Linked DNA regions of Homo sapiens: regions 2, 3 and 4 are each linked to region 1. Evidence: promoter capture Hi-C in 16 types of primary human blood cells and fetal thymus (Javierre and others, 2016). All regions are on one chromosome and are shown on one strand. Each heading gives the region's core, a stretch centred on a gene start or on the middle of the fragment in contact. The rest is flanking DNA. Distances are from core to core; before and after follow the strand shown. Region 1 holds the start of SH2D1B (SH2 domain containing 1B). Region 2 overlaps NOS1AP (nitric oxide synthase 1 adaptor protein). Region 3 overlaps NOS1AP (nitric oxide synthase 1 adaptor protein). Region 4 overlaps NOS1AP (nitric oxide synthase 1 adaptor protein).

Evidence for each region. Contacts are between HindIII fragments. The CHiCAGO score rates a contact against its expected background, and 5 or more counts as called.
Region 2: a contact is called between a fragment that was not itself captured here and the fragment with the promoter of SH2D1B in region 1, in 1 of 17 cell types (M1 macrophages). The highest score is 6.0, in M1 macrophages.
Region 3: a fragment that was not itself captured here is called in contact with the fragment with the promoter of SH2D1B in region 1 in 1 of 17 cell types (M1 macrophages); the score reaches 5.7 in M1 macrophages.
Region 4: a fragment that was not itself captured here is called in contact with the fragment with the promoter of SH2D1B in region 1 in 1 of 17 cell types (M1 macrophages); the score reaches 5.7 in M1 macrophages.

What each region holds. Positions count from the first base shown.
Region 1 is chr1:162,407,583-162,414,901 of GRCh38, reverse strand. It overlaps SH2D1B (SH2 domain containing 1B), which reads left to right and starts at 2,766. Exons shown (of 4, transcript NM_053282.5): 1 at 2,766-3,019. The coding sequence starts at 2,886. The HindIII fragment of the contact is 13,514 bases long and covers 2,583-7,319 here.
Region 2 is chr1:162,177,130-162,184,448 of GRCh38, reverse strand. All of the region lies in intron 2 of NOS1AP (nitric oxide synthase 1 adaptor protein), which reads right to left. Among named protein-coding and RNA genes, the nearest start is that of MIR4654, 24 kb to the right of the region's middle. RefSeq lists an enhancer at 3,475-4,005. The HindIII fragment of the contact is 1,686 bases long and covers 2,957-4,642 here.
Region 3 is chr1:162,202,883-162,210,201 of GRCh38, reverse strand. The region is part of intron 2 of NOS1AP (nitric oxide synthase 1 adaptor protein); the gene reads right to left. Among named protein-coding and RNA genes, the nearest start is that of MIR4654, 49 kb to the right of the region's middle. The HindIII fragment of the contact is 3,804 bases long and covers 1,110-4,913 here.
Region 4 is chr1:162,238,366-162,245,684 of GRCh38, reverse strand. All of the region lies in intron 2 of NOS1AP (nitric oxide synthase 1 adaptor protein), which reads right to left. Among named protein-coding and RNA genes, the nearest start is that of MIR4654, 85 kb to the right of the region's middle. The HindIII fragment of the contact is 847 bases long and covers 3,693-4,539 here.

The DNA.
Region 1 (7,319 bases), core at 1,517-4,016:
ATCTTATAATATGAGTTAAATATATTTAAATTACACCAAATTATCACTAAATTTATTTGCTAGTTTATTTAATGTACAAGATATTTAATTAAAACTGTTCACTCAAATTCTACATTCTAAAGTCAGTTGAAATAATTTTCTTTATGATTATATTACCAAAGTAATGTTCAGTTAGATACATTATTTTAGTTTTTATTCCTCCTTTTAGGAATACCCTTTTACTTGTTTATTTTCAATGTGTAAAACAATTATGGCCGGGCGCTGTGGCTCACGCCTGTAATCCCAGCACTTTGGGAGGCCGAGGTGGGTGGATCACGAGGTCAGGAGATTGGGACCATCCTGACTAACATGGTGAAACCCCGTCTCTACTAAAAATACAAAAAATTAGCTGGGCGTGGTGGCAGGGGCCTGTAGTCCCAGCTATTCGGGAGGCTGAGGCAAGAGAATGGCATGAACCCAGGAGGCAGAGCTTGCAGTGAGCCGAGATCGCACCACTGCACTCCAGCCTGAGCGACAGAGTGAGACTCTGTCTCAAAACAAAACAAAACAAAACAAAAAAACAATTACATGATTCTACATTCAAAACTCCACAGCAGGCTGGGCGCAGTGGGTCACATCTGTAATCCCAGCACTTTGGGAGGCCGAGGCAGGCAGATCACTTGAAGTGAGGAGTTTGAGACCAGCCTGGGCCACATGGTGAAACCCTGTCTCTACTAAAAATACAAAAATTAGCTAGTCATGGTGGCACGTGCCTGTAGTCCCAGCTACTTGGGAGGCTGATGTGGGAGAATTGCTTGAACCAGGGAGGCAGAGGTTGCAGTAAGCCGAGATCACACCACTGCACTCCAGACTGGGTAACAGAGTGAGATTCTGTCTCAAAACAAAACAAAACAAAAAACCAACAACTCTACAGCAAGTTTTACTGAGAGAAGTCTCACCTCTATGCATGTTTCCGCTCTCCTCTTAGAGGCAGAAGTTTTTAGTTTTAATTAGTTTTAGTTTTGTTCTTCCAGTGGGTGTTTCGTTTGTTTTTTAAATATGAGCAAATATTATAAATGTATATATTTATTTATATCCCCCATACTCTATATACTATTGTGCATCTTGCTGCTTTCACCTAAAAATACATCCTGAAGATTATTGCATATCAGCATATAGAGATCTTCCTCAATCCCATTTTATTATTCTATAGTAATATTCCATTGTATACATGAATCACAGTTTATTCACCTGTCCCTCTATTCACAAGTCTTTGAGTTGTTTGTAATCTTTTTCTATTAAAAAATACTACCTTATTCACAAGTCATTTTCTAATTCTGCCTGTGTAGTTTTGTGACAGATTTCTAGAACTGAGATTGTTCTATCAGATGGTGAAGGCATACATAAATTTGCAAGATATTGCCAAACCATCTTTTACTATAGTTGTAACTATTTTTTATTCCAACTAATGATATACAAGATATTCTATTTTCTTTCACCATGACCAACCCAATAAGCTTTCAAACTTTTGATTTTCACCCATATGATAGGTGAGAGTTGTTATCTCAGCATGCAGGTAATTTGCATTTCTTTTATTGTGAGGGTTGGATTTTGAAACAGCAAAAAGGGCAAGGAAGCCCCTGTGATGACCAAGAGCCTGAGCATGCTTTCAGTTATTTCCTCTCTTATGTCAAAAAGCATCTTTACACCACGATTGTGAATTTATTCACAAGAAATACCAAATTTCTTCTTTCATTATTAACAACTCTGTCTTCAACTGCCATAGTTTCCAGAGAATTGAATAATGAATTGTCCAAAACCACAGAAGAAAAGTTGCTATTTGAGAGCATATCTGTCTGATAACGAGTTCCCTGATCAGTGAAACTGCACTATGCCAAATGCAGAGTGGGAATTCCAAGGAAGAACAAAGATCTGTTACAAGGAAGTTCCATAGAAGATACACCCAACTGTGAGTAAACAGCTGGTAAGCAAAGTAGCAAGGTGAAATAAACATCTAGGTTAAGAAGAAGTTAAGATCTCCAGGTACTACGGAGATGAAGAAAACAAAAAAAAGAAGAAGTTAAGAGAAGTAAAGATGAATCGTTAGCACATAGTTCTATTTTCATAGATAACATTTTTGAGATATATATAGTGATTTTCTGTAGATATATGAGTATACCCAGATATCCCTCCCACCTACACCAGCCCTTTCTCCAAAAGGAACAATGCTTGAGGGTGTTCAAATGGCCTTTTTTCACCAGTGGCTGGGAGCCTTAGCCATGGAATGGGCTGTCCTCATCCACAGTGTCCCACTGTTTTTTATTGCCATTAATGTCTTCCATTTTTAGTGTCATTTGATCCACGGAAATCCCACCCTTTCAATTTTCCCATTGTATCTGAGCATATCAATTCTCTCAGCATCCAAATGGTTTTTGAGCACCCAGTCTAAGCTAAGCATAGCCCAATCCTAGGCAACTTCAGCAGAAAATGGGTACCATTACAGCAAAAGCAGCGGTGTGCTTCCTGGAAAGGATACCAGTAGCCAAAGAAGTTGATGATAGTCCATGGTAATATACAAGGCTGCAACACAGTTCCAGGAAGCTTGACTTCAGCATTGCCTCCCTAGCCATGAGCATCACTGATTCCATTGTGTGTTTAAATGTGCTTTACCTACTTCTGTGAGTCACATGTGGGCCATTTAGAGGGTGAAAAGTGTTGGTCATTTTATCACCCCGCCCTCCTCATTTCCTGAATCTTGTGAAGCTGGCTGAGTCCCACAGACCGCTAGAGGAAGAGGTAGCTCCACAGGAGGTACAGCTGCTTACACATCTCTCCTCAGAGCTGTCCCTTGACTTGGGGGTGAATTTCAGGCCAACAGGGCTTCCTGGGATACAAGAGCGTTCTCCATGGATCTGCCTTACTACCATGGACGTCTGACCAAGCAAGACTGTGAGACCTTGCTGCTCAAGGAAGGGGTGGATGGCAACTTTCTTTTAAGAGACAGCGAGTCGATACCAGGAGTCCTGTGCCTCTGTGTCTCGTGAGTAGCCTCATCTTGCACACATCTGACATCGTATGTTGAATGTGGCAATGGCTGCCACACAGTACAGGAATTCATATCCCTCAGTATTTCACTCTGACTTTGGAGTCTCAATGAGTAGAATGAGAAGTAATGGACACTGCCAGGAGAGGAATGTATCTGTCCATGCTCCTCCATCTGCCTGCTCTCCCTGGTGTAAAGGCCCTGCAAGCAGACTCTGCAGCAGCAGGAGGGACATGGTGGTGGTGAAGGGAAGGGCTGCAGGAAGTACAGGGGTACAGAGGGATGGAAAGAAGGTACAAATGTCAGAGGTCCTGTCCTCCAGAGATCTGTTTATTTGGTATGGAAAAGGCTAGGGGTTCTTCAAGAAATTTCAATCTGAAACACTTATTCTGCAGCATCTGCTTGCAATACGTAAACTATAAATACAATCATATTTCACATTTTGTTAGATTTGTGAAGGACTTCAATATTCGTCATTTCCTTTCATCCTAGTAGTCTATCAAGGCAAGCATAAGCAGTCACCATTTCATAGGTAAAGAAACAGAGACCTGAATTTCTCAAATAATTTGTTTGTGTTAAAACTCATTTGGAATTTCCAGAGTCTAAGTTAAACATGAAATTCCAGGCTGGGCATGGTGGCTCATGCCTGTAATCCCAACACTTTGGGAGGCTGAGGCAGGTGAATCACTTGAGGTCAGGAGTTTGAGACCAGCCTGGCCAACACGGCAAAACCCCATCTCTACCAAAAATACAAAAATTAACCTGGTGTGGTGGCGTGTGCCTGTAATACTGGCTACTTGAGAGGCTGAGACAGGAGAATCACTTGAACCCAGGAGGCAGAGGCTGCAGTGAGCTGAGATTGCACCACTGCACTCCAGCCTGGGCAATAGAGTGAGACTCTGTCCAAAAAAAAGAAAAAAGAGTGGCTGGGCACAGTGGCTCACTCCTGTAATCCCAGCACTTTGGGAAGCGGAGGCAGGTGAATCACCTGAGGTCGGGAGTTCGAGACCAGCCTGACCAACACGAAGAAACCCCGTCTCTACTAAAAATACAAAATTAGCCAGGTGTGGTGGCGTATGCTTGTAATCCCAGCTATTTGGGAGGCTGAGGCAGGAGAATCACTTGAACCCGGGTGGTGGAGGTTGCAGTGAGCTGAGATTGTGCCATTGCACTCCAGCCTGGGCAACAAGAGCAAAACTCCATCTCAAAAAAAAAAAAAAAAAGAAAAAGAAAAACAAATTCCAGGCCACAGTATCAAAGAGACCTAGCTGAAGGAACTTGTTTATGCCCAGTTTAGAAAGCAATCCTGAACAGAAATCACTAGAAACCTCCTATCTTTATGTATGTTCCTCTTTGTAAAGTAGGGACCACTGAACCTTTTATTATACCTGTAACAGAAATTAAAATCCAAATGTCTCTTGTTAAAGAAAAAAATTACTCAATGTCACTTGTTAAATTATGGTTGGGAAGACTTTATTCAGGATCATCACAAAGGTACAGGGACCACTGCAATGAGCTCTTGCGGCACAGAAAAGAGACTGGACTCAACTCTGAATCCAGCATGGACAAGTGGGAATTTATGGCCAAGGAGCAGTGTGGCTGTCGGTAGACAGAAAATTACTCGGAGGAAACATCAGGGGTAAAGTGGATTCTGGCTAAACCAGCCTAACAGAATTGTAGCTGAAGACAGGCCCGGGTGATCAGATGTTGCCTGGGGGATGGTGGAGGATGAGGAATCTGATCAGAATCCAACAGTGATCAGATAGCTAGGGTGAGGGGTCCTTGCCAAACTGACTTAGTAGGGTTCTTTGCTAAAACTGGATTTTACAAGGAAGTACACAAATGGGCCTTGGAATAGGCTCAGAAGTCTGATTATAGACAAAAGTGATTGTCATTACTAATAGAATACACAGGGACATATTTCTTTCTTTAAATGGTACTGGAGATACAGGCTATTTCTCTCATATCTACATCCAACAGTACCATTTAAAGAAAAATATATATTGGCCAGGCGCGGTGGCTCATGCCTGTAATCCTAGCAATTTGGGAGGCTGAGGTGGGCTGATCACTGAGGTCAGGAGTTCAAGACCAGCCTGGCCAACATAATGAAACCCCCATCTACTAAAAATACAAAAATTAGCCAGGCATGGTGGGTGCAGTTGTATCCCAGCTACTTGGGAGGCTGAGGCATGAGAATCGCTTGAACCCAGGAGGCAGAGGTTGCAGTGAGCCGAGATCGCGCCATTATACTCCAGCCTGAGAGACAGAGAAAGACTCTCCATCTCAAATAAAATAAACAAAGAGTGGAAAAGATCTGCTTACATGTAAATGGGATGGAGGGCATTTTAGGAAGGGGAGGAGGTAGGAACAGGAGTCTAGAAGTGGGATATTTTAAAGGATTTACATACAAGGTTCCTAAAATGTAGTTTGGAAACCAGCTTTTGGAAAAGGAGGGTGGGATAAGATCATGGAGTTTTAAAAGAATGGTTCTATAGATAACAGGGAAACATGGATGGTTTCTGAGCAGGGAAGTGAAAAGACTGGTGAATTTAGGAACTTCAATTTGACGTGGAGAACACAATGAAGCTGGGAAATGATGGCAACAGAAACTGTTGTGTCTCTGGACGGGAGACGGTGAAGAGCTAGTTGTGCTGGGGCAAGCAGTGGGAAGGGAAAAAACAAGAAGGTGCAAGGACAGACCTTGGCCAGGATCTCAGGGTATATGGTCAATATGGGATTCTCTTCCTTCCTTTCTTTCTTTTTTTTTTTTTTAGACAGGGTCTCACTCCAGCTCCTAGGCTGGAGTGCAGTGGTGCGATCATGGCTCACTGCAACCTCAACCTTCTGGGTTCAAGAGATTCTCCTGTCTCAGGCCCCCTGAGTATCTGGGACTACAGGTGCGCACTACCATGCCTGGTTAATGTTTAAATTTTTTGTAGACATGGGGTCTCGCTATGTTGCCCAGGCTGATTTCGAGCTCCTGGGCTCCAGTGATCCACCCACCTCAGCCTCCCAAAGTGCTGGGATTACAGGCATGAGCCACTGCACCCAGCCTATATTGGGATTCTCTTTGAAAATTGATATTTATTCTCAACTGTTCTGTGGTGCATCAGCCCATCTTGCATATTCATCTAAAGCAAAGGTCACTAAGAGATGCTAAAAAATGGGCCAGGCGTGGTGGCTCACACCTGTATTCCCAGCACTCTGGGAGGCCGAGGCGGGCAGATCACTAGGTCAAGAGATTGAGACCATCCTGGCCAACATGGTGAAACTCTGTCTCTACTAAAAATACAAAACTAATTAGCTGGGTGTGGTGGCATGCGCCTGTAGTCCCAGCTACTCAGGAGGCTGAGGCAGGAGAATTGCTTGAACCCAGGAGGCGGAGGTTGCAGTGAGCCAAGATCGCACCACTGCACTCCAGCCGGGTTACAGAGCGAGACTTGATCTCAAAAAAAAAAAAAAAAAGAAGAGAAAAAAAGAGAAGCTAAAAAATGAAAATAAACCAAGTGGAGAGGCAAAAATAAATATTTGTTAAGCCCCTGCACATGATCAGGTCTCACCCACCTCCCTACACATGTCACTGAAAGGCAAACAACATTTCATTCACCCTCAGGCTTAAGGCTTAGGTCAAGTGACCCCTGAAGCTATCTCCTCATAGGGCCTTGTAAAAATGTATTATCATACAGATAAGTATGGACTATTAAATTCTAGTTGTTCAACAAATATTTGAATTCTCTCATATGTCAGACAGTGTGCTAGACACTCGGTTGATGCCTTCAACACAACTCAGAGCCTAGTGGGGAAAATAAAGAAGTAAACAGACACAGTGATGCATGTGATAATTATGATGATTGGACTATCATTAGGGCACTGTAGAGCTGACAGCAAAAAGGGGAGAACCAGATATTGGAGCTGAGACTTTAGGAGAATAAGTGGAACCTTCATTCATTCAACAAGCATATACTGAGCACTTATTATGTTCCATGCGTGGTCCTAAGCATTGGTAATACAGTGATAAATACTACTGGCAATGTTTCTGCCCTCATGAAGTTAATTTCAGTAAGAGGAGAAAATATGATGAAAATGAAACAGAGTCATATGACAGGGAGAGACACAGCTGCTGCTTTCCATTGGGTACAGGAAAGGTTTCTCTGAAGAGGTCACATCAACCAATTCATGCTTCAAGATACAACCCTTTGCAAGCAAAGCAAGAATTACTATTATGATACAAGTGTTAGCCTGCTTGTCTTCACTGACACAGAAAAAGTTACCATGTAGGTATTATCTATGAGCCAAA
Region 2 (7,319 bases), core at 2,550-5,049, 230 kb after region 1:
AAGGTTTGCGGCAACCCTGTGTCAAGCATGTCTATTAGTGCTATTCTTCTAACAGCATGTGCTCACCTCATATCTGTCACATTTTGTTAATTCACACAATATTTCATACTTTTTAATAATCATCTCTGTTATGATAATTTGTGATTAGTGATCGTTATTGTTACTATTGTAATTTTTGGAGGGCACCTTAAACTGTGCCCATATGAGACAGCAAACTTAATCCATAAATGTGTATGTGTTCTGACTGCTCCACCAACCAGCCATTCCCCCATCTCTCTCCCTCTCCTCAGGCCTCTGTATTCCCTGAGACACAATAATATTGAAATTAGGCCAATTAATAACCCTACAATGGCCCATCAGTAAAGTGGTCAAGTGAAAGGGAGAGTCTTACCTCTCTCACTTTAAACCAAAAGCTAGAAATGATTAAGCCGGGTAAGGAAGGAATGTCCAAAGCTGAGATAGGCCGAAAGCTAGGCCTCCTGTGCCAAACAGTTAGCCAAGATGTGAATGCAAAGAAAAAGTTCTTGAAGGAGATTAAAAGTGCTACTCCAGTGAACACATGCATAATAAGAAAGCAAAGCAGCCTTATGGCTGATATGGAAAAAGTTTGGACAGTCTAGATAGACAAATCAAACCAGCCACAACATTCTCCTAAGCCAAAGCCTAATCCAGAGCAAGGCTCTAACTCTTCAATTCTATAAAGGCTGAGAGAGGGAACGAAGCTGCAGAAGAAAAGTTCGAAGTTAGCAGAGGTTGGTTCATGAGGTTAAAGGAAAGAAGCTGTCTCTGTAACATAAAAATGGAAGGTGAAGTAGCAAGTGCTGATTCAGAAGCTGCAGCAAGTTATCCAGGAGATCTAGTTAAGATCATTGATGAAGGTGGCTACACTAAACAACAGATTTTCAATGTGAATGGAAGAGCCATCTATTGGAAGAAGAGGCCATCTGGGACTTTCATAGCTAGAGAAGAGAAATCAATAACTGGTTTCAAAGCTTCAAAGGACAGCTAGTGATACAGCTGGTGACTTTAAGTTAAAGCCAGTGCTCATTTACTATTTTGAAAGTCCTGGGGTCCTTAAGAATTGTGGTAAATCAAGTCTGCATGTTCTCTATAAACGGAACAACAAAGACGGCATGACAGCCCATCTCTTTACAGCATGGTTTACTGAATATTTTAAGCCCCCTGTTGAAACCTACTGCTCAGAAATATATTTCTTTCAAAATATTACTGTCATTAACAATGCACCTGGTTACCCAAGATCTCTGATGGAGATGTTCAAGGGGATGAATGTTGTTTTCATGCCTGTTAACACACCATCCATTCTGCTGCCCATGGATCAGCAGTCATTTTAACTTTCAAGTCTTATTATTTAAGAAATATATTGTGTAAGGCTACAGCTGCCATAGATAGTGACTCCTCTGAAGGACCCAAACAAAGCAAATTGAAAACCTTCTGGAAAAGATTAATCATTCTGGATGCCATTAGAACATTCATGATTCATGGAAGGAGGTCAAAACATCAACATCAACAGGAGCTTGGAAGAAGTGAATTCCAGTTCTCCAGGATGACTTTGAGGGGTTCAGACTCCAGTGGAGGAAGTAACTGCACATGTAACAGAAATAGCAAGAGAACTACGATGAGAAGTGGAGCCTGAAGATGTGACTGAATGGCTACAATTTCATAATAAAATTTTAATGAATGAGGAGTTGCTTCTTAGGGATGAGCAAATAAATTGGTTTCTTGAGATGGAATATACTCCCTGTAGACCCGCTATGAACATTGTTGAAATGGCAACAAAGATTTAGATAAACTTAGTTGATAAAGCAGTGCAGCAGAGTTTGAGAGGACTGACCCTAATTTTGAAAGAAGTTCTACTGTAATGCTATCAAATAGTGTCACACGCTACAGAGAAATATTTGGTAAAAGGAAGACTCAATCCTTGCAGCAAATTTCATTGTTGCTTTATTTTAAGAAATTGACACAGCCACCTCTACCTTCAGCATCCAGCACCCTGGTCAGTCAGTAGCCATCAACATCAAGTGTACCTTGTTTTTATATGCACTTGGAACCAAAATATTTGTGTGACTCACTTTATTGAGATACTCGTTTTATTGCAGTGGCCTGGAACCAAACCCGCAGTATCTCCAAGGTATGCCTGTACCAACTTGACAGTATTGTGACCGATTATAAGGTTCAATGACATTATGTATGAAAGTACCCTGCACAGTGACTGTCAGGAAGCAGACACTGTAAATGATGACTGTCGTAACAATTATTGTAATAATCTACCTCTTTCTGGGCCTCTGAGTAAAAAGCCATGTGACTTTGTGTTCAAATCTCTCCAGACCCTGGCTTCCTCCTCTAGTACATGAAGAAGGAAGATGGCTCTCTGACCATCTCACTGTACAGCTCTGAGGATTAAAATAACAATGTAAATAGAAGCACTGTGAAAAATACAAGCCCAATGCAAATGTCAAGTGGGACTTTTTTCAACTCTATCCAGGAATTCTCCAGAGTCCTTCATAAAGCTGGCCTTCTTAGGTCATCCCCAGAAAAGATGTTGCATACACTTGAAATCAACTCAGACCATACTCAGTGGTCTACCATGTTTCCTGTCTGATACAAGGAGAGTACTGAACAAAAATCTTTGAGCATCTGAGATACTGATGGCTTGTGAAGCCATGAATGAAATAAATTGGGCATTTTGGGCTCCATCCTACAAAGGAAGTGCCCAAATCAATCCCCTCATTCCTGGCCATCAGGAAGCATCCACTCCAGTGAGCAGTTCATGTCAACATCACCCCCTAATTCAAAAGGCCCTTGATAACTGTTATCCAGGGGGCAGCTGGTACTAGAAAAGCCCTTAAAAATAAGAACCAGAACTTCACAATAGTGAAAAAATAAGAGCTGACAGAATTAATCTTTCAAAATGAAGTAAAAATTATGCAAATAAGCTTATCTAAAATGTAAAACCTTATTTAAAATGTGAAATATTTAGATCATATTGAATTTTGCATTAATTCTTAGGCTAGACTGAGTTATTGATTTATTGTTGTAATTTTTTTCCAACATCACTACATAATAACATGACATCCTTTACTACATCTCTGACTTTCATGACATTACTATACAGAGCATAATTTTTGCAGAAATTATTTAAGAGCTTTCATTTTCTCAAAGGTGTGTCTTAATATTCAAAGATATTCAAATCCTTCTCCTTTGAAGTCAGTTTCTTGTCAGCATACTGATTGTTTTTCTCACCAATTATGAGTGGGTCTAACCCTGCCCAGTCCTCTTTTGTCTGTTAAGTTGTTTGAGCAGTTCTCCAGCAATCCTTTTATTGACTACCTATAATCCTACATCTTTTGCAAGACTTGCAATTTCACTTTGAAATACATTTGCATGGAAATTGCACTGTACTGCCAGATCTGAAAGCAGAATGCTGGCTGATAGACCTTGAGGATAGCTGAGAATAGATGCTGCTGTTAAGGGGAGGATGACTGAACAGGGAATGTTTTAGTTTTCTACTTGCTGCATAATAATGGCCACAAACTTCAAGGCTTAAAGCAACACACATTTAGTATCTCCCAGTTTCCCTGGGTCAGGAGTCTGAATACAGCTTACATGGGTCCTCTGCTGAGAGTCTTGCAAAGCTGCAACCATGGTGTCAACCAGGCTGTGTTCCTTTCTGAAGCTCATGGGTCATCTCCCAAGCTCACGTTGTCGTTGGCAGAACTGAGTTCCCGGCAGCTACAGGACTGAGGCTCCACTTTCTTGCTGGCTGTCAGCTGAGGGCCATGCTCCGCTCCAAGAGGCTCCTGTAGTCCCTTTCCACATGTGCCTCTCACATGCAGAAGGTCCCGCTCCAGGCTGCTAAAATGGGGTCTTAAATAACGTAACACATTGGCCGGGCGCGGTGGCTCATGCCTATAATCCCAGCACTTTGGGAGGCTGAGGCAGGCGGATCACAAGGTCAGGAGATCGAGACCATCCTGGCTAACACGGTGAAAGCGCGCCTCTACTAAAAATACAAAAAATTAGCTGGCCGTGGTGGCGGGCGCCTGTGGTCCCAGCTACTCAGAAGGCTGAGGCAGAAGAACGGCGTGAACCCGGGAGGCGGAGCTTGCAGTCAGCAGAGATAGCGCCACTGCACTCCAGCCTGGGCGACAGAGCGACACTCTGTCTCAAAAAATAAATAAATAAAATAAATAAATAAAAATAAAATAACACATCATGGAGGAGGCTACACAAGGGCCTGGCACATTGGAGGTCACCGGGTGCATTTGCCACAGGGATTGTTTCTGTAAGTGATGGCTTCATTGGTGAATATTTGGATGTTATGATCACTGTTGCTTTCCTAGGTAACATATCATTCAGAAATCCAGATAATGAACACCTGCATAATGCTGGTCCTCACCTCTCAGATCCAGGCTCTCCATTCCCACTGTCATGGCTCCAGTTTAGGCCCCTACATTCTTGCCAGCAGCCAGCACTAATAAATGGTGTCCGGCCTTTTCTCCTCCCAATCCATCCTCTGCATCACCTCTAGAGAGAGCTTAGTAATCTGCAAACCTCACCATATTTATTCTCTGCTAAAAATCTACCAATAGGTCACTACTACCAGCAGGATGAGGTCAAAGCTTTTTAGCAGGCAAGTCAGCGCCTTCATGATCTTATTGCCTGAGAAATCCACTGTCAAGTCCATCTCTCTCCAGCCCTCCCTGTGCTCTCTCACCTCTAGGTCCAGGATTTCCCTCCCCACTCATCCACCCTTCTGGATCTGAGTTCAAGGATCACAGCCTCTGTGAAGCCTGCTTGGACTTTCTCAAGAAGCTTCACATAATGTTTCTTTACATTCTCACTGAATTGTTTTTGCATAATCGCTGCAGCATTTACCCCAAATGCTGGTTTCCAGGTCCGTCTTCCCAACAGACTGGATGCATCTGCAGGCAAGAACTAGCTTTTTCCTTCCTCTGTCTTTAGCAGTACCAGAGAACAGACTGGCAATGGCTGTAGAATTGTTGTTTATCTAGCACAGCATGACAAATAAGAACACAGATTATAAAACCCCACAGCCTGCATTTGAAAGCCAGCTAGCCGGCTTCCTAGCTGTGTAACTCAGGGCAGGTTACTCAACTTCCCTGTGCCTTGGTTTTACCACCTCTAAAAGAAGAATCGTTTTCATATCTATTTCGTAAGATTTTTATGAGGTGTAAACAAGCTAATATTTGTTAAGGAACTAAAAAAGGGTGTAACATATGATTAAGACTATATAAACATTTGTTACATAAAATAAATACCCAGTAACTACGAGATACACAATGGTAGGAAATTCATGCAAAGAAAGGAGAGATGCCACACAGGTCCAGGAGATGAGCTAATGACAAAACTGTTATCAAAATTTTTCAGCCAAAAAAGAAACAGTATACATAACCACCAGCACCACCCCCCTCAACCCCCACCAAAAAACCCCACAAACAAATAAAGCAAGAATGATAAAATCCTGGTAATTCCAGGACCTGAGTGATAGGTATAAGACGGACTAAACTAGTCTTTTTACTTTGGTGTATGTTTGACAATGCTCGGAATGAAAACAGTTTAAATCTAAATAGGCCAGCATAGGCTGAGCATCCAGGAAGTATAAGAGCACCTAGGCAAGGCTACAACTTTCACACAGAGAAAGAAACCTTTTTCTTCCACTGTTCATAAACTGACGGGCAACCCTGGTGAGCTGAACGAGGTGCTTCTGGATGAGCCCTTTCTAGCTGGGTGGATGCCACCTTCTGTTATATGCTGGTCTCCAGAGACGGCATGACGCAGTGGGAAAAGCTCTGGCATCAGGAGGGATGAGTGTAAGTGCCAGCTGTCACTTACTAGCTACCTAGCCCTCCTGTGCCTGAGTCTCCTCACCTATAAAGTGGAAGGCCCTACTTCATAGGGTTGCTAAAAGGATTATTAAATAATATATTAGCAACTAGCACCATGTTTGGTGTATGGCACATACTCAGTAAACATATTTTTAAATAAAATAATACAAAACTAATCATACTCTTAGCAAGCACATCATTCAGCAGTCACAGTCTTTCACCTTTATTCAAATGGAATGAAAACTTATGTCCACACAAAAAGCTGCTCACAGATGTTCTTGGCAGCTTTATTCATAATTCCAAACCTTGGAAGCAGCCAAAATGTCCTTCAGTAGGTGAATGAATAAATCAACTGTGGTGTATCCAGACAATGGCATATTAATCAGCACTAAAAAAAATGAGCTATCGAGCCATAATAAGACCTAGAGGAATCTTAAATGCATACTACTAAGTGAAAGAAACCAATCTAAAAAGCCATTCATACCTACTGTATGATTCCAACTATATGACATTCTGGAAAAGGCAAAATTATAGACAGTAAAAAGATCAGTGTTTGCTAGAGGTTAGGAGGAGGAAGGCATGAATAAGCAGGGGACAGAGGATTTTTATGGCAGTGAAACTATTCTGTATGAAACTATAATGGTAGATACATGTCATTAAACACTCGTCCAAACCCACAGAATGCACAACACCAAGAATGAACCCTCATGTCAATTATGAACTCTGAGTGATAATGATGTGTCAATGTAGGTTCATCAGTTGTAACCAATGTGCCATTCTGGTGTGGAATGTTTAAAGTGGGGGACATTGTGCATGTGCAGGGGCAGGAATATATGGGATCCCCAAACTTTCCATTCAATTTTGCTAAAATTACTCTAAAAATAATGTTTACTACTTTTTTAAAAAATAGAAAAATCACATCATTTAGTTAAAAATGTTTAAATAAATTAATATAAACTTCAAAATAAATAAGTAAATAAAAAGAGTAGGCAAACTCAGTATATAACTACAGGTCAGAGAGCTGCCCCGCAAACTGAAGTGTGGGAAAACCAGGAGACTGAGCTACACTGACCCCAGACCCATGGCTGGTTCCCTTCATGCCAGTGGCTGAAAGACTCCGCAGCTGACCTACCTGGCAAAACAGACACCACCACAACTCACCCCAAAGATCTGAAAGGGCCATGCGTGGGCCGGCCTCTCTCCTGAGTCACACAGGACGAATCACTCTGTGTAACAAACACTCTGGTTTACTGGCCTTTACTGCCACACCAAAGTCACGTGAAAACTGCTTTCAGGAATCAGGGTTAAGTTCCTAATTAACACAATGGCGTAATCCTTGGGGCTCAGCTAAGCCCTGACTCCAGGGCTATTCCAAATCACATAATCCACCCTCCTCCCCCATATCACCTCCTGGATTAAAATTTTTAAAGTTCTCAGCAAGAAGGGTGGTCA
Region 3 (7,319 bases), core at 1,762-4,261, 200 kb after region 1:
TGCAAAGTTGTTGCTGAAGAAATGTAGTTAAAGTGATACTCTCTCCCCCTCAGAGCCTTACCACCCATCCCTCCCATATAATCAGTCTTTCAGACAGCAGTATGCCCATCTCTCTTCCTTCTCCTTTCACAAGGATCAAAATAATAAGGAAAAATTAACAAAAATATATACATTTTTAAAACTCCCAGGTTGGAAAGAACTTAGAGACATCTAGTCTGGTCACTCGTCTGATATCTCTATCTCTGCCCACTCTGCATCAGCCTTGGCTAAAATGGCCCCAGTGATGAAGAATTCCTTCCCTCCTAAGCTTTCTTCATCTTCCAACAACACTGATGACCAGAAAATTCTTGTTATACTGAGCCAGAATCCACTTTTCAATTGCCTGGTTCTGCTTTGAGTACAGAAGAGTCCCCCTGCCCTTGCCCCCCGCCCCCAGCTCTCAGCTTCATGAGAGCTTTCCAAAACTTGAAGATGGCTAGCAAGAGAGGGATCTTCCCAAAGTGTTGGGAGGGCTCTGGCCCAACTCTCTAATCAATTTCTCTTCCATGAGTATTTAAAAAGTGTTCTTTAGAATAATGTTTTCAAGTCACAGAATGTTCAGTGGTAGAAGGTATCATAAAGATCATTTATTCTTCTTCCTTCACAGATGAAACCCAGGCACAAAGAGAGGAAACTGACTTGTTCAAGTCCTCATAGACACTTAGCAGAACACCCAAGGTTATATTTGAGCTCTCCTCACATCCAGAGGTTTGTACTGGGTTCTCCTAAAATACCACTTCTCCTAATTTTCCCCAAGCAGAACTGTGCTATCCTATCGCCCTTCTATCTACATGCATTTATACACACACTTCAGTCCAGACTATTTCCAACTTAAAGGCTTGGACGTTTGGCTTTTGGTTGCCTGGTACAACCTTACATGTGAGACAGTCCCTGAGACACTTGGGCCCTACACTGGTGCCCATCCCTGAAGGGGCACCAGAAATATTTCTGGAAGTCATTCCCCAGCAAATTGGGAAACATCTTGTGCAAAAATTGCAAATACAGAGGCCCCATGGGGTTTAAAGGCCATAAATGGGATTCCAGAAGAGGAAAAATCTTACCCATAAGCTTATTCTTTTAATCAATTGTTTGAGAGTAATCTGAAAAAGGGTTGCAGAATTTGCTCATTCCCCTGCAGTGTTGGCATTCTGAAAGTAAGGGACTGCAGGCCTGTGAGTCAGCAAGGAAAGCAAAATGAAAACTAGAAAATTCTAAGCATTTATTTAATACGAGCTAATAGAAGATGATGAATATGGCCTCAAATTTTCTGTTCTCCCCAGCCTCACATGAAGGTGGTGCAACCAGGAAAATGAGCTGAGCAGATGGAGTAAACATTTATTAGACATCTACTTTACGGTCGGTATAAAGGCATTGTTGAGAAAACAAAATTTCCCCTAAAGTATTTATAGCCTAACTCAGAAGGCAGGGTACAGGCAGTGTCTAAAACACAATTAATCAATGGTTCTCAGCCTGGGATGATCTTGCCTTTCAGGGAACATTTGGCAATGTCTGGGGTCATTTCTGAATGTCACAACTGGCATTTCATATATCCATATAATGGATAGAGGCCAGGGACACTGCTAAACATCCCACAGTACACAGGACAGCCCCTTACAACAAACAATTATCTGGTCCAAAATGGTGGTGGTAATAAAGTTAAGAAACCCTAAAGTAGGTGATCCACTAGTAGATACATGGTGGCTAAAATGAACTAGAATTCATCCAATTCAATATTTATTGAGGATATGTATGTGTCAGGAACTTTGTAGGCACTTAAGAATTAAAGATGAATAAGACATGTCTCTTCTCTCAAGGCTACATGAAACAATTATAAAAAGACAAGGTGGGATGTGATCCAGAGTTAAATTGGGTGTGTAAGTGCTTCAAGATTCTGAGAAAAGTGTGGCAACTGTAGGCCAGCATTAATTAGAAAACAGATGGGTCCTGAGCTTGGTCTTGGAGGGCAGGTAAGATTGGAATAGGCAGGCTGGGAGGCCCCTGCCAGGTGAAAGGGCTGAGCTGAGGGGCTCCAATAGCATCCCCAGACTCACCGTGAGAAACCCAAGAAGCATGCTCACTGCTGGTCCTCCCGCATCATAGCCAGCTGGCAGAAGCCAAGCCTGACCACAGTCTACATACCTTCATCTCCCATCTACAGATACTCCCCAGTGCCTAGCGCAGGGTATGTATTTCATGAATATGAAATAATTAGAAAAAGACAATAAAATTAAATCAGGAATTACTATTTTTTTCAGGCTTTTAAAATAAACTTTATTTTTAAAAAAGTTAATATGTGCATTATAAGAAACTGAGAAACACAAGAAGCAAAGAACACAGTCATTCACAATCACAAGCAGTTTATAGTTTGACATGTTCTTCTAGATCCTGTGTGTGTATAGGCACAACATCCAATTTTATGGGACTGAGACCGTACAGTATGTATCATGATTTTTCACACATCATGAATATTTACCAATTCAAAATCCCAAAGCTATATGATAACCAAGAATACACTACACCAACCAGGAACTACTATTTAATGAACATTTGCTCCCTGCCAGATTGTTTGCTTAACAACTTTACTTGCATTATCTCATTCAATCCTTGACCACAACCCTGTAAAGTACCTGGTATTACCACTTCTAAAATGAGGAAACTGACTGGCTGAATGAATAAATAAACCAATAAGTCAGCAAAGAACCAGCTCGAACAGCTCTGCTGTTCCCACACTAACCTGGGCTCTTTCTGATGCCTGCTGTTCCTTGGGTTCCAGCTTGCCCCACCCCTCAGGGCTCTTACACACACAGTGGCTATCAGCACCTAGCTGTCTAAAGCGGAGGTGTCGCGTGGGTAGACGGTGATTTTACAAGGGTTTCTAAGGCCACTGTGCCTCTGGCACTACGTCTAGAACTTCCCAGAATTTCTGCTGGCCAGAAGCCAGCACCACAAAAGAGACTGGAGCAAGGATGCTGGTATAGAATCTCCTCAGGGAGAAGGCTCAGGATCCCTGGTCCATGTTAAAACAAGGCAGCAGCAAACAGCTTCTTTTCACTAGCACATTTAACAAACCCTCTAATTATGTGATAAAAATCCCACTGGCGACTGCTTTTCTCAGAGCAGCACATTACCACTATCCAAATATTTCTCGGTCTCTAAATAATAGGGTAATTTTACAAGGCACGTATCTGCAGCAGCTGCAACAGCACAAATGGGTGCTGGTTAATTCCTTCTATTTATACAGCCCTCTTACCATTTATAGGATGCCCTCGTGGCTTTATTTCATTGGATCCAAGCAACCACGTTTTGAGAAACAAGTCACCTTATCTCCATTTTACACTCAAAGAGATCGAGGCTCAATGAGGTAAAATGAATTGCCCATGGTCACACTACAAGGTCTTCTGGCTTGTCTGGTAACAATATCATGTGCCAGCCACACTGCATGGCCCCTTTGCAATAGGTGATTTTCACTCTCCTTTCCTACTTAATTTGCAAATGATCATCAAGAATGCCTACTTGTATATTAACAAAAAAATTCCTGTGATACAAAAACTCACAATCCCCTTATCTTATGATAACAAGGCTTACCTAACTTCAGAGGTTGACAAACTATTTCAGCACAAGGCTGGATAGCAAATATTTAGGCTTTTCAGGACAGACTGTCTCTATCACAGCTACTCAACTCTGCCAAGGCAGCCAGAGACAAATGTGTGTGGCTGTGTGTCAAATAAAACTTTATTTATAAACACAGGAAGGGAAGACACAGATTTGACTTGCAGATGTAGCTTGCCAACTCCTGAACTAGATTATAGGGTCTTCCCATCCTCTCACAGATCCGACTAACCCATAGAGTCAAATCTACAAACTCAGAAACAAGAGAATAAAAAACTTTGCTACTTTTTTTTTTTTAAGAGAGAAATAGATTTGAAATGCCCCAGTCCATTTTCCTTTCCAGAGCTCCCTGGAGTAAAAATCCCTTTATGCTATTTCAGCCACTTGCTGAACATTACTCCCTGCTCCACACACATTTTCCTCTTTTCCCTGTTCTTTTGAGTTTTCCAGTTACCGGATAACATTCTCTAAAAGGTTTTATGCTACTGTTTTGCCTTTCCAAATGTGAAAAGATGATGCCCAGGTCCCTCACAAAATGGTCTTCATTTGAACAGTATAAATGACTGCTTTGCTGAGAGGTGGGTCAAACAGACATAGACCTCTGTGACTCCTTACACCATCAAAGAGTAGCAGTATAACAAGGCTCAGCCAACTTCAGAGGCTGCCAAACTTTTTCTGTGTAAGGCCAGATAGCAAATGTTTAGGCTATCGAAGAGCCACTAAAAACCCCAAAAGCCCCATCCTACTCATGGAACAAGGTCTACAGGGTTCAGAATTTTGCTTGATGGCTCACACACCAAGCTGGGAATTATAACAGGCCTGATCTACAGCAAGACAGCTACAATTCCCAAACTGAGAATCACCCTTTTAACATACCTCCAAAGACTTCCTTAGTAAAAAGATCCAATAGTGATGACACCGGAATACTCCCCGGAAAAACCATTACATTATTCTGGATGAAAGATGGAAAGGCATGAAGACGAGAATATTAGAGTGGTATTTAGAAAGAAGGAAAACTCTAACTTTGAATCCCATTTTCAAGAAGCATCTTAAGTTGTGCTTTCTTTGATCCCCATTCACTTAATTGTCACCCTCTACCAAGGAAAAAAAGTGGTATGGCAACTGGGGAAAGAGAGCCAAGCTCATGTTTAATGCTTTGTCTTGCAATCAAGAGGCACAGGGGAGCTCCACTCCCCATTAGCTAAACATCCAGACCATCTAAAACAAATGCAAGATTTCATCTTAAACACTTTTAAAGTAAAGCTTAAACTGATCCTGAACCTGAGAGAAGAAAGGAGTGATATGTATTCAGGCTCACACATGCCTGACGCACAGTAATCAATAAATGTTTGCTCAATAAATGTATGAATATCAGGAACCAACTTCCCATCTGGGGTTCACAGGGCTTCTTTTCACATACTCATTTATCAAGAAGCTAGGCATCAGTTTTGCTTTCTCTCCAGGACCAACTGATTAGCAGTGTGATTTCTGGCAATATCTTTGTGCTAAATGAAGTATTACAAAACAGTTCAGATGGCTTGTGTTGCTCAGCCTCATGAATATCTGGTGTGCAGAGAACCTGGATATCTTCTTATCCAATTCAGCAAAAATCTAGGATACATTTTAGTAGCTTCCTCTCAAAGTCCCCTAGTCCTACCCCTATAAACAAATCACCATCCATTCACATCCCACACAAGCACCCACAGCCACACATGTGCACGTACAGTCTTCAGATAATTGCAGCAACACCAACCCAGTGATTCAGATTCATAATGATTTCTAGGAATTCAGAATGTCTAAGCTAGACATACACATTTCTCTGTTCCGTTCCATTTTGAAAACTACGCAAACAGCTGGCAGCAGCTGCACTGATCAAAAGCTAGGACTCCACACTATATGACAAGAGGCACTAACACAGGAAATATACAAGGCAGACATACATGGGATGATGCCAAAGGAACAAGAGGACACAGAACACCCTCTTCCCAGCTCTAACTGTGAACTGTGTTCGGAGTGACCACACCACTCTGACACTGGCTGGCCATTCGCTGCACTTAGGCAGCAAGGTGAGGTTCAATCCCCAGTCATCACCTGCCCACACAGAGGCAACAAAAATGTGAGCCATTTTAATTCACTCCACCATCAGTGACTATCTATTTGGTCCCCCAACCAAAAGACTGACAAAAATAGGAAGAAGTGACATGTAAGCGGAAACCTGTAAGATGACCTAAAGCTTTGGGATGGGAGAGCATCGTGGAGAAATGAGAAGGCCCAAAGGCAAGTGAGAGCACGGTGTTGCTGAAAGAAGCCCAGCTGTAATGTAGGGCAGCAGAGAAAGAAGGGGAAACACAAAGTGAAGTCAACCAGGCCAGGTCATTTGCTTGTGCCCTTTTGGGCTATGTAAAGGAGTTTGTATTGTCCCCAGAGCATGGATGAACTATTGCAGGGTTGAAGCAGCACAAATGGGCACGCACTAACAAGACTTGAATTTTTTGAAAGAGCACTCTGGCCATACTGTGGAGGATGGGTGTGAGGACAGTAAGGCGAGCCTGCTAAATCTAAGCCTAGGCTGAAGGGGGCCTGTGGTGGCAATGGGTACTAAGAAAAATCTGTATTGATGGCATGCATTTCTTGAACTTCAGATCTTTATGGGCTGACCCTTGGTGCTTCTTTAATATCCTATCAAACTTCCATCTGGCCTTCTTGACCAAAGAGGAAAAAGACCAAATCCTCTGGGGCCCTGCTGGATGGGATGGGATGTGATAACCCCTTTCAGAAGCAAGGTGGAGCTTGCTTTTATGCCCTAGGTGCCCAACATTTAAAACATCATCTACATCACATGCATTATCACTTCTTGTGATTCCCTAAGAGTGGCAGAACTGGGATTAGCCCCTTTAAGTAATAGGGAAATACTCAGACAGCAGAGGCAAAGTCAAGTTCTAAAGTCATGGTGGGTAATCTTGGGATGGAGTCTGCAAATCAATTTTTTTAAAGGTGCTACACCCTTTGATTATCTTTCCTGTGTGATTCCCACACTCCTTCTTCTAATGACTTTTCATCATAATGTTGACATCTCGCCTTTTGAAAATTGCTAAAAAGTAGATACTTTGTAGATGTGTGCTGGGGGAAAAGCTGTTCCCTGCTTCCTAATCCCAGCTCTGCTTTGGCCAATGCAATTAGAGCACAGACCAGTAGTGGAATCTGGATGAAAATCCACATCACATCCTTTAACTCCTATCCAAGGCTCACTGCACTACATCACCTGAATAGAGGAATGAACAGACAGACGGACAAGCATAGCAATGGAGAGTTGGATCAATGAACAACCTCTTAAAGCTTTATTTATAATCTACCTCCTTCATCTAATAAGAGATTTCATAGGGAAAAAAACAGCCTTTTTTATGTCAGCAAAACCAGATCTAATGAGACCAAAGAAATGAGCAGGTTCCTCTGATAGCCTCTCTAGATGATTCAGGCTGTCTGTCCCAGTCATGAAGACACTACCCTAACTCAAGGCACAAATACAGCACACCCCTCCCGCCGACACACACAATCACCAAAAAAGGCTGCCAAAAACAGTGGCTCTTAGTAGCCAACACTCTTACTGATGGGGAGAAAGGAAACAGACCTACAGGCATCAGTTGAGCCCCTGTATCCAAGCATACCTGAAG
Region 4 (7,319 bases), core at 2,867-5,366, 170 kb after region 1:
GTCTCATTCACAAAATAATGTCTAAAAAGCAATTGCTGATGGACATCTGGGTTGTTTCCAGTTTTGCCTACTACAGCTAAAGCTGCTATGAAGGTTCATGTACAAGCGCTTGCATTTGCTTTCACAGACATATGCTTTCATTTCTCTTGGGTAAATACCTAGAAGTAGAATGGTTGGATCATATGGTAGGTGTATGTTTAACATTTTAAGACATTACCAAACTGTCTTCCAACTGGCTGTACCATTTTGCATTCCCACCAGCATTATGTGAGAGTTCCAGTTCCCTGACATCTTCATCAACATTTGACATGGTCAGTCTTTTACATTTTTCATCATTCTTAGTTATGCAGAGGTTCCTCCTTATGGTTTTAATTTGCATTTTCCTTAAGACTAATGATGCTCAGCATCTGTTCATATGCATATCTGCCATCTTTATGTCTTCTTTGGTGAAGTATCTGTTCAAAGCTTTTGCCCAGTTTTTAAAATTGGGTTGTTTTCTTATTAATTTTTTTAAGTTCTTTATCTTCTGAATACAAGTCCTTAGGCAGGAATGTTCACAGCAATTGCCTTCCCCAAATTAAAAACAAAATATCCTACTAGTTTCCTCTCTTTCCTCGCCCTATCCTTGTCCCCTCCTCCTCTACATGGTAGCACACAATCTCAGCATTTAAATAAAAGAGGAGGCAGCTATGGTCTTCCCTCAAGCTCCCATCACCCTATATAGCCATAGTTAGGAAGTAGATCTTCTCATATCCTTGTTACTCAAATGCATGTATACTCATGCATGCCCAGGAGGAGTTAACATAAGCCCATTTCTTCTCTAAAGATGCACTAACTTTGAATCGTTAGCTCAACTAGGAGCAATTTTATCCCCATGCAATACTTGGCCATATCTAAAAAAATTTTTGTTTGTCACAACTGGACAGTAGAAATGGTTGCTACTGGCACCCAATGGGTAGAGGCCAGAGATGCTGCTAAACGTCATACAATGTCCCCCACAACGAAGAATTATCTGGAAACTCTGCTTTAAATCAATTTACAGGTACTCCTTTAGATAAAGCAATATAGTATAATAGAAATAATACAGATTTGAGAGCCAGGAGACCTGGGTTCTATTCCTAGCTCGGTCACTAACTAGTTGTATAACCTCAGGAAAACACTTAATCTCTCAAAGCACTAAATTCTTCATCTGTAAAATGCAGAAGCTAACCTAAATTATCTCTAAGTTCTCCTCTAGTAGCAAATAAATATAGCTATTTATTCAAAACCACATAGAACTTGGAGCAGTCCTGAAAATGTCCTTAGGTTCCATACTTAAATTCAACAAGATGGTAACAAAGGTTGGTTTAAGAGAACAGTCCTTGAGAATGTGTCTCAAAGAGAATGAAAATCAACTGCTGACCCCAGCAGGAACCTTGCCTCAACTGAGAGGGGAGACAGGTTCCCAGCACCTGTCAAGCAGAATCTTGGGATCTAGTTACTCCCTAAATAGACCCTGCCCCACCAGTCTGGATCCTTCTCTCCTCCATCCCATGCCTACTCACTCAACTTCAGGGATATAAACATGTAAAATTTGAGTTTCACAGCAGAGCAGGTAAAAATACTTTAAGGCCCGATACACCTCATTGAGCCAGTCTCCAACTTATAAATGAGTCTGTGCCAATGATATGGTGTCTTTGAAAATCCAGACGGAGCTCTGATAGGAGGTAAGTCACCTTGTAGTGGGAACCTGGGACTCACTCCCTCAAATGACAGGCCACAGGCAATACCAACGCTGAATCCTAATCAGTTCCTGCCACTCACACCCCCTTTGAGGGGAAGACGGTCCTCCAACAATTCTTACAACAGCTGTTTTGCAGGTTAAATGAGGTTGAAAAATGGTCCTGTGGGTCCCTGCAAGAATGAACAGACAGCCAACATCTCAGATGGCCCATGGGTAAAGTTCTTTAATTTCAAACTGACTAAAAATTAGAAACATTAATTAAGGAAGAATATTTACCTGGAACCTCTCAGAATTAACCCCAAGAGCTGCCTGTAGATATTTCTGGTGAAATCATATGACTTCCACCATAATTGATGGGTTAAGAAGAGAGCAAGGCCAGCCCTTGGAGATGGGGAAGAGATTTGCTCTTCAAAGAGGCAGACCGATTTGAAAGGAGACCTTACACTCTTCTCTGTCTCTTTTCCGATAAGGTCAGGGCCATAGTTGAAACACATTACTAATCACCATCATCTCTCTTCCTTGTTTTTTTTCTTCCATGCATATTCACAGCAAAGAGGGAAAGCGAGGACACAGAATGTAGGAAGTGAATACCCTGGTCTCTGAGAGGTACTGCTCTTTATGCAGGAGCCCATGCCCATTGCCCCTCATCATTGCCTTCCTCACCTGCTTCTCTCTCATCTAGCCAGTGCTTGATGGGACCTTGAGAAGCATGCTTTCCTCTTCCAGCTGCCGCCATTACACATCTAACACCCCCTTGTCCCCTCTCGGCTACAATAACCTTTCAACAGACACACCTGAATTAAAGTCAATGCAGACTTCAATCAGGATATCACTCCTAAAGCAGAAGCAGATAGCACTACTCATTACCAGCTTGAAGACTGAGAACAGTAGGCTCCCTTAGGGACAATCATAACTCCTTGTTTAATCAGGCTCCTGCACTGCCTGCTGTCTGTGGGTGTATGTATACATGGGTATGCGTATATAGGGGAGGAGCTCAAACCGAAAGCAACATGCAAAATAAACTCCTCTATTAAATAATGCTCATTTTCACTTTTTCTCCTCTACTTTTGCCCGCGCCCCTCCTTCCCGAAGACCAATTTGCAATAAAATCTAGGAGATAGCTGAAGGTTTTATGCTCACTGCTGAAGACTAGCAATTTCTTCTCTAGTGATTTGAGCCCTATCTCTAGTGGATCCCCTGAGTTGCTGCTTTCTTCAATTCTTGGAGGCTGATGATTAGAGCTATCATTTCTATATAACAAATTACATCTGTAATACAACCACCATTGTTTTTTACTCAGACTCTTGTGGGTCAGGAATGTGGAAGAGACTTGGCTGGGCAGTTCTTGCTTGGGGTTTTGCGTGCAGTTACAGTAAGATGTTGGCTAGGGCTGCATCTGAAATTTTGATGGGTCTGGACGTCCAAGATGGCTCAATCCACAGCTGACAGATGATGCTGGCCATCAACTGGGAGCTCAGCTGGAGCTGTCACCAGAGTGCCTACACGTGGCCTCTCCAGCATGGCTATGTCAGGCTAGTTGGACTTCTTTCTTGGCAGCTAGTGTTCCTCATAGTGAGGAATAGTTGACTGGCCATTTTTTTGGACCTAGCCTCAGAAGCTGCATACTTCCACTGCATTCTGTTGGCTGCATGCAAATCATGAAGGTAAACCAAGATTCAAGAGTAGTCACAAACTCCATCTTTCAATGAGATGAGTCTCAAAGAATTTGCAGACATGTTTTAAAAACCCACACTGACCTGTCATCACTTAAAACCCTATTCACTTGAGGTCAGGGAATATACTCTGTTCCTTACTCTCTCAAGCCTAGTTGAGTGTCTGACACATTGTAGATGTTCAATAAATAGATGATGAATGAAGGAAGGAAGGTAAAAAGAACAAATGAACTTCCTGAATAAGGAAACTTCTAGATCTATTTTTTGAGAGAAAAGTCATTTACTGTCCCCAAGCTTTGTTTTCTTTCATTGTTACAGTGGAGATATGACATTCAACTTTCATGGGATTGTGGTTAGAGATGAATGAGATGATTTAGGAGGAAGGATTTTCATTTTCCCAGGGTTGCTGAAAAAGTAAGACTAGAGATGGCACCATGCAGCCAGCCTCTCCTTGTTCACAGAGTTTCAGTGTGAATCTGCTTTGTTGATGTTGACATCTGTCACCTCATCTGGAATGCCTTCCCTTTTCTCCTCTGCTGAGTCAATCCTTGGAGACCTATTTTCATCTTGAGTTCTTCCCGTAGAGGCAGTGTGGGAATTAAGAGCCTGGACTCTGCAGTCAGGGGGAGTGCAGATTCTCTCTCCCACATTGTGCAGTGTAGCCCAGGTCAAGTTACTTAATCCTTCCCAGCCTCATTTTCATCTGTAAAATGAGGATAATAATAGTATCTACCTCATACAGTCATGGGGATTAAATGGGTCAATATGTACTGAGCACTCAGAAGGTTGCCCAGCATAGAGCAAGTGTGAAGTAATTTTAACTAGCTATTATCATCACTCCAGTCTTCACGATCTCTCTCTCCTCTGAACTCCATGCTCTTCCCAAAATGAACTCACTTCAGTTTCCCAAAAGTGCCAGGTTTTCTTGCCCTTCCATGCTGTTCCGTATGCAACTTCCTCTTAAAAGTATTAATCTTTTAAAGCACTCAGCTCTGCGCCTGGCACATGCTAAGCATTATCTTCAGTGTTGGTGATTATGGTTCTACCTAGAATGCTCTTTCCCACCTCTCCTCTGCTTCCCTTGTCTGGCTAATTCTTGGTCATCTTTCAAGTCTCAATTGAAATGTTTCCTTCCAAGAAGCTTTCCCTTCCATGCTAAATCCAGAGTAGGTGCCTTTCCAATCAGGGTCACTGCTGGTCCCTGTGAGCCTTTCTGTGAGTTACAAAAAGGCTCCCCTGCCTCTAGCCAGTACATGTCTTGAGAAGTAGAGGATAGGCTGGATTTCAGCCTCTACTCATCCTTTCAGCCAACAGCCCTTGAACAGCCACACCCCACATAACTGCACACTGCCCTGCTTCCAGTGTGCACTCATGGCATTTATCCTACTCCACTGTGACCATCCCTTGACACGTCTGTATCCCGCCATCAGACTGTGAACTCTGCAAGGGCAGGGCCATAATTGCTCCAGGTGAAATCCCCAATACTTAGTATATCACCCAGCACCAAATAGGTGCTCAGTAAATATTTGTTGAATACATGAATGGACCATGAAGAAATGACCATGTGCCTTGTATCTTTCCCTTGGGGTTGTTTATACATTCCACAGTGTACCTGTGCAAACAAAAAGCTGCCAAATAACACGCTGATGTTTTATCTTTACTCCACGTTTGTAGTTTTTGTTTTGAGTTGGGAGAACAGTGAGTGAGACTTCAATTCATATAGACAGTGTGATTCAGGCTCCCGCTAGAAAGCATGCTGTGCTGTAAGAGCCCTTATCCAGGTGGTTAATGGTACCTCTGCAAATGCAACCTTCTCTAGTAAAAGGCAAAGTGCTATTCTGGGGCCCTGCTGAGCTTGCCTGGGCTTGGGCAGAATGTATAAGCCAAAAATATTTCCCTGAACCGTTCAGAAGGCACTGAATGAAGAGGCTGTTCTGAGGTACTGCCCATAGGGCCAGAAGGCAGGAATCCCAATCCACGTGCCAGGTGAGCAGGCATGCCTCAACACACACACACACACACACACACACACACACACACACACTGGCCACACAGTGCAGCAGGAATGGGACTTGAGCCAATCATGGAAGTCAGTGAGGCCCCTCTGTTCAGTCAGCTGGCAGTTGTTGTGGCTTATTGAGAAGGACAGACCATAAGGCAATAAGGTAATCTCATCTGAGCAGTTAAGGAATGGGTTTCAATGAGTGTCTCTAGCGTGGCAGGTGGGTAAATGTGCCAGGAAGCTGCCATCTGGTGGCAGGAGCACCAATCCAGGCACTGGGAAGCCTGGAGGGAGCTCTGATGCCACATTACTGAAGCAAGTCACCTTCCCTCTACATCTGTGTCCCCAAGTATTAGTTGGCAATATACAGGCCTTTTTACTTCCTGGAATTATTTTGAGCATAAAATCAGACAAACCTAAGTAAAAGTAATCTGAAAGTAAATTATTCTCGAAGTCATTATACTCATTGAGTTGTACAATCCCTTTGCAACATCACCCTACTTGTTTATGCTGCTTTTCCTACTGGGGTTCTCTCCCACTCCTCTTGTCCTTCACAGTGGCCTCTGTTAGCCCATCTGTCTTAGCTGGTGATATGTGACTCCTCCAGGTACATCCCCAGGTTACTTAGGGGCAATAATCATATCAGGCAATCTCTTGGGGGCTTATGACTCACAGCCCAGCACTTGGCATACAGCAGGCTTGCTGAATATTTGCTTAACTGAATATAAGCACGTGTGTTGATCTGTGTGAGTATGTGTGCAAATACATATTCACTCTCAGTCTTCACAGGATCTGACCATTGGAACAACAAAGGAATCCTTTTGGTGACAGGCACCAAAGGGCAGTGTCATTATAATATGTCAAATTGCATTATACTCAAAATAGGGCTCCAAAACCTTGGTTGATGCAGTCCACTGAATTTTAGGAATTCACCCAATAACTGGTAAAATAGGAACTTGCAATAAGAGAATATGATCTGTAGATCACAATGGCTACTTCCTAGACACGTTCCTTAGATGAGCTTCCTCGGCTCTCCTAGAGGCACCTGCCCACATCAGCTGGGGCCATGTGGAGCCCATATCTGATTTGTCTTCACTAATCTTCTTACAGTAAAAGACTTCTTATAAACACAATCATAACCAGTAAAAGTTGGTCTATTACTCAAAACAGATGTTAAGGCAAAGAACCATAGAAAACAGTATGTGCATACCTTAAACATTTTATTTTAATATAAGATATATAAATGTATGTTTATTCACTAATATTGTAATGTAGATTGGAGGTCTTTCCTCTAGGAATAGGTCTACAGATTAACTTACCAAACTCTTCCTTACATAAATAACACAATATATTGACTCTGATTTCTAATTTTGCTTTCTTCCAAGTGGATTAAGAACTTAGAGACATTTGCTGAGTAACATGGGTGCAGGATCCTTCTAAGATTTTTACTTTCCCTCCAACTTTTTTATGCTGTCTTCTTCATAACTAATCCATTGGTGACTTCTGTAACAATTCACTGTTATCATTTTTTTCAAAACATTCTACTTTTATATACGCAGCAACTATAAGAGATGAGATGTCAGATACTTAGAAGAGTACCTAACACACAGTAAGTACTCAGTGAATGTTAGCCATCTATTTTTTCTCACTCATATTTCATTTATGTAATAATTAAATTATTCAATTACAACAACAAATATAACTGGTGCAAACAAGTTTAGGAATTCACACAATTGGCTCTTGGTATGCATTCAGCCCTAATGGAGGGAAAAAAATTATGGTGGCACATAAGACAACAATAACAAAAACACGTAGCAGCAGTTGCCGGTAGTATGTTTTACAGAAGGAATGGAGACTAGCAGGTAAGTTAAGTGGAGGTCACTTAAGAGAGCTGCTTCTTTGATGAAGCCCTAACCCTTCC